Regions from separate parts of the Homo sapiens genome. Here region 1 is linked to region 2. Evidence: promoter capture Hi-C in 16 types of primary human blood cells and fetal thymus (Javierre and others, 2016). All regions are on one chromosome and are shown on one strand. The core of a region is centred on a gene start or on the middle of the fragment in contact, and the rest is flanking DNA. Distances in the headings are between cores, read along the strand shown.

The links. Contacts are between HindIII fragments. The CHiCAGO score rates a contact against its expected background, and 5 or more counts as called.
Region 1: a contact is called between a fragment that was not itself captured here and the fragment with the promoter of MAGI2 in region 2, in 1 of 17 cell types (megakaryocytes). The highest score is 6.8, in megakaryocytes.

Annotation. Positions count from the first base shown.
Region 1 is chr7:80,013,584-80,016,283 of GRCh38, reverse strand. No RefSeq gene overlaps it. Among named protein-coding and RNA genes, the nearest start is that of GNAI1, 120 kb to the left of the region's middle. The HindIII fragment of the contact is 607 bases long and covers 978-1,584 here.
Region 2 is chr7:79,452,298-79,454,997 of GRCh38, reverse strand. It overlaps MAGI2 (membrane associated guanylate kinase, WW and PDZ domain containing 2), which reads left to right and starts at 1,331. Exons shown (of 22, transcript NM_012301.4): 1 at 1,331-1,978. The coding sequence starts at 1,678. MAGI2-AS3 (MAGI2 antisense RNA 3) reads right to left here and starts at 2,041. Exons shown (of 4, transcript NR_038346.1): 1 at 1,807-2,041; 2 at 1,343-1,411. RefSeq lists an enhancer at 2,591-2,700. The HindIII fragment of the contact is 2,254 bases long and covers 1-1,690 here.

The sequences.
Region 1 (2,700 bases), core at 32-2,531, 560 kb before region 2:
ATTTTGAAGGAATACCAAGTGAATATTTATGAAGATACTGTGGGATATTCCTTGGGAAAAATGCTCTTAAAGCATTATATTTACTAGCTACTTACGGATCCTTAGAATAGACTGGGATGAAAAGTTAGCACATCTTTGCTAGATATCCTGAATGCTAACAATATGTCAGTGAGTGTCAGGGCTGACATTGTAATATAAGCATTGAGATCTTCAGAGTTTCTTGGTTGGTTTCAATATTCTCTTTTCAATGGTCGTAGAAACTGTCATTCTGGCATATTCTGGGTAAGCCAAAAAAAGGCCCTTCCCAACAAATCTCCCATGCTGCTCTTCCAATTCCATCACCACTTTCCCTTATCAACAATTCAATGCTGCCCCCCAAATCAGTCTTAGTCTTAAATTAAACGTTGCTCATGAAGGTGTATTATTATCTTGAATCTATTTCTGAAAACAATTTGGTAAGGAAACGGGTTTTATATTGAAGTTAAACCCTGGGCAAAACTTATTATGGCCAGGCATGGTGGCTCACACCTGTTATTCCAGCACTTCGGGAGGCCAAGGTGGCAAATCACCTAAGGCCAAGAGTTTGAGACCAGCCTGGCCAACATGGCGAAACCCCATCTCTACTAAAAATACAAAACTTAGCTGAGGATGGTGGCGGGTGCTTGAAATCTCAGCTACTCAGGAGGCTGAGGCAGGGAGAATTGCTTGAACCCAGAAGGTAGAGGTTACAGTAAGCATAGGTCGCGCCAGTGCACTCCAGCCTGGGTGACAGAGCAAGACTCCGTCTCAAAAAAGAAAAAAAAGAGTTATTATATGTTTGATGATTAGAAATAGAAAAATTTTAAAGGTTCATAATATTCTTATACACATAAACACATACTACAAATGGTAGCCTTTATCAATAGGTTAGTTTAAATCATCAAATGAAAGAAAATACCAAAGAGATTAAAAATTACTTAGGAACACACAGAAAAGCTTATTAGTGATTTTAAATTCTCTTTTCCTGTGTTAAACACAGTAAATAAAAGAAAGACTTCAGAAGTATTTATGAGAACTGTAATGCTGAAATTTGATAGGGAAAAGGCAAAAAGATAAAGGGAATTGTAATATTGCTTTTCTAAGTTTAGAATGAGATTTATTTGCTTTGCTTAGAGAGCACAACCAATAACATGAATAGTTTTGAATTATCTTAAAGTCTCCTCACTATTTTAGCAGAACCTTATTCACCTGAGCTATCTCTTACTAAACGTAAATAACAACTAGTGCAGTGTAATAACTTTGCTTTTTGTTATGTGGTACTTTTGCCAGTAAAAAGTTTTTAACTACTGAAATTTGAAAGTAAATATGAAACAAACGAAATAGTATGAGTAAAGTACATTTTGGTAATGTTTATTTCCTTCTGGTTTTTCCCTAAAAACTCCAATGAGATAAAATATTTAAAAATATTTATAGCATGCTGTGATTTGGATATACTTTGTTCTCACTAAAACTCATGTTGAAATTTGATCCTCAATGTGAGAGCATTAGGAGGTGGTACCTAGTGGGAGGTCTTTGAGTCTTGTGGGCTGATCCCTTATAAAAGCTTTAGTTTCATTTTCCCTGGCAGTGAGTCAGTTCTTGCTCTCATAAGACTAGATGAGCTTCCGCAGAAATGGATTTGTTACTGCAAAAGTGAGTTGTTACAAAGCAGGATGCCCATTAGGTTTTGCCGCTTTGCACATGTCTGCTTCTCCTTTAGCTTTCTCCACCATGTTTTGATCAAGTGGATGGATCTCACCAGAAATCAAATTTTCAAAAATTAAGGAAAAATAGAGAATATTGAAACCTGCAAGGGAAAAGTGTATTGTTATGTACATGGAGAACTCTCCAAGAGACTATCAACATTTTTCAACAGAAACCTAGTAGGCCAGAAGGAATTCAATGATATGTTTCAAAAGCTGAAAGAAAAAGAAACCTGTTAACCAAGAACACTACACTCAGCAATCTTGCTCTTCAAAAGTGAAGAATAAACACTTCCTCAGACAAACAAAAGCTGAGGAAATTTATCACTGCTAGACCTGCCTTACAAAAAATGCTAAAAAGAGTTCTGGAAACTGAAGGAAAATGCCACTTAGTAGCAATACGAAAATATAAAACTCACTGGTAAAAGTAACCACATAATCAAACAAATAATTTGTTAAGAAACACAGACTTTAAAAGATACAAAAACAAATTGTATGTTGGGGGAAGTAAAGGTGTAGAGTTTGTGCAAATAAAAGTAAAGTTGTTATCAGCTTAAAATAGTCTGTTAATAGTGTAATATATTTTATGTGTTTCATGTAAGCACAAAGTAAAAACTCTTAGTAGGTACATAGAAGATAAAAAGAGAGGATTCAAGGCACACCACTATGGAAAATCATCAAACCAGAAAGAAAGACAGCAAAAGAAGAAGAGAAGAACAAATAATCTACAAATTAATTAGAAAACAGTTAACACAATGGAAACAATAAGTCTTTACCTAAATAATTCATCTGAATGTAAATTGATTAAATTTTGTAATCAAAAGACATCAAGTGGCTGAACTGATAAAAATAGAAAGACCCAACTATATGCTGCCTACAAGGAGCTCAGTTCACCTCTAAGGACACAAACTGAAATCGAAAGAATGGACAGATATTCTATACAAATGGAAAACAAAAGAAGCAAAAGTATCTATACTTA
Region 2 (2,700 bases), core at 82-2,581:
AATCTTTTTCTTAAATCACTGTTAATGTCTCACAGGAAATTAGCTCTTCAGTGGAAATCAGCAGCCTCCCTGCATCCTTTTGCCCCTGTCCTCCCCTCTCTTGGATGCAAACCTGGCGAAAAGAAGGGAACACTGCTTGGGGTCAGCGAGCTGAGTTCCAGCTCCGAATGTACCATTTTCACCCTCGGGAGTCTTCTCCCCTTTCTCTGTGAGCAAAGGAGTGTTGGGCCAGACCGTCTTAAGGATTCTTCCCCAGGTACAAGCCGGACTCTGGCGGCTTTCCTGGGCAAGGGAGTGTCTCCGCCTTGTCTCTGCCGCAGGTCCCTGGTTAAATTGTCAATTTCTCTGCGGAGGCTGCTCACTGCATCCGCTCCCTCCACCCCTAGCCCTGTAGACCCCTTCTCTTTCCCCTACTTGGGAAAAGTGAAGCCCCTTATCCTTGGATAGCCTTTCACCAGACAACCGCAGCCGTCCGCTAAATTCCCCTACTGGCGGGACGCGCGGGCGGGGGCCTGCCCCGGGGAATGCGAGGCTGCTTCCCTTCTGCGTAATCAGGGTACGCAGCCTCCAGTTCTCTAACTTTCTCCTTCTCTAAGAGGGAATTTCGAGAACTTTAAGACAAATAAGTGACTATATAGATGAAGACATGAAACCTCTCTACACAGTGAACTCCCCCACGCTACAAGGCTCCCAGGGATCCCAGGCCTTCTCCCGCAATGCCCCGCCGGGTCCCCCGCCCCAACTCCTTCTCACGGCAGGATCCCGCGCCAGGACGCTCGCAGAGCCCGAGATGTGGCACCAGGCGCGCCACAAGTCCAGGTCCCGCTATTTCTGCTCCATCGGAGCCCAGGTCGGAGGGAGTCAGCGCGTCCTCCTCGCACAGGAGCCTGGCGCGCGGCTCGGTCGCACAGAGGCTGAAGAAAGGTCCGCACTGGGCTCGAGGCCCTTCCTGCCGGCCTCCCCACGCCGGGCCTAGGCTCCCCTCCTTCCCGGCTCCCGCCTCCTCCCGTAGGCTGCCAGGCGGACCCAGCCTGCCTCTCTCTCTGCCTTCACTACCGGGTCAAGCTGCGGAGGGAGGGAGGGAGGCAGCGGCGAAGCCCTCCGTGGCTCCCCACCCGGCGCGCGCGCCCCTCCTCCCCTGCCTCCTCCCGTCTGCCAGTACAGTAGAACTAGTACACACACACACACACACACACACGCACACGCACCCTGCCACTGCAGCTGCCATGGATATCAGCTAACAACACACACCCAGGCGCGCGCGCGCGTTCCCACTCGCACCACGCAGGAGTGGCCCCCGGCATCCCTACCCTCCTTCCCCACCCCCACCACACCCGCTCACCAGCTCGGCTACTGCTCGCTCCGGCTGCCGCCGCCGCCGCCGCCGACGCCACCACCACTGCTTCCTCTGCTGCGGGGCCACAGCCTTGAGTGTCATTCAAGGGACAGCACAACCTCATCCAAGCTCTCCTACCTCTGCCCAGCCGTCCCTCTCATCCTCCCCATTCCTCGTCCACACTCCATCCAAAGAAGAGGGAAAGCACCGAATAGAGGGGGGCGAAGGCAAAGTCTGCTGTTCTTCCCCCTGGGCCCCCTTGCTCCTCCATCCTCATTCTCTCACCACCAGCCCCCCTAACCCCAAGGAGCCCAGGAACTGAGGCGACTCGCCCCACTGCCATGTCCAAAAGCTTGAAAAAGAAAAGCCACTGGACTAGCAAAGTCCATGAGAGTGTCATTGGCAGGAACCCGGAGGGCCAGCTGGGCTTTGAACTGAAGGGGGGCGCCGAGAATGGACAGTTCCCCTACCTGGGGGAGGTGAAGCCCGGCAAGGTGGCCTATGAGAGCGGCAGCAAATTGGTGTCGGAGGAGCTGCTGCTGGAGGTGAACGAGACCCCCGTGGCGGGGCTCACCATCAGGGACGTGCTGGCCGTGATCAAACACTGCAAGGACCCCCTCCGGCTCAAGTGTGTCAAGCAAGGTGAGAGCAGCGGCTTGCTCAGTGTTTTGCCGGGCGGTGGGACCGCTCGGGGCGCAGGGCAATGAAAGGGTGGCCGCGCATGTTGAAGGGGGTGTGTTGCGCGATGATGGGGTGGGGGCCAGAGAGCACCCGCAGTGCAAGTGAGTTTCGCCGGGGATTCGACTTGGGGGCTAAAGGGAGGGGAGGGGCAGGTTGTGGTGTGGCGTGCAACTTTGTTTGCTCAGTTAGACCCTCCCCTTTGGAAGGTGCTCGGCCTGGTCTGACCTCCTCAGAGCTGCTGGGGCAAATTGAATGTGCGTCAGTGGCATCACCCGAAGCGGATGAAGAGCTTTTGGGGAAGGGAGGAAGGAAGAAAAGAAAGAAAGAATGGGAGGAAGGGAGGGAAAGAAGGAAGGAGCAACTTCAGGGTGCAGCGGCATCACCAGCGGGTCTGGGAAGAGAAGGTGGTGGGGTGAGCGGAGAACTGCGTCCAGCGTTTCTGGGGCTGGGCTGGGGGCGCCTGGGTCCCCAGCTGTCCCTTAGGGATCCGTGAGCCACCGCTGGCGAAGAAAAGAAGGGACAAATTGCTTTGGGCGCTTTGACGGGTCTTCTGTAACTTTTCCCCTTCTTCACTCCGTGTCCCCCTCCCCCGCTCACGGTCGTGTCATGTGGGCATCGCGCGTCACGTGCGTACTGACTAACCCCTGCGCTCACCCCTAGCCAGCCCGGGGGAGGAGGCTCCG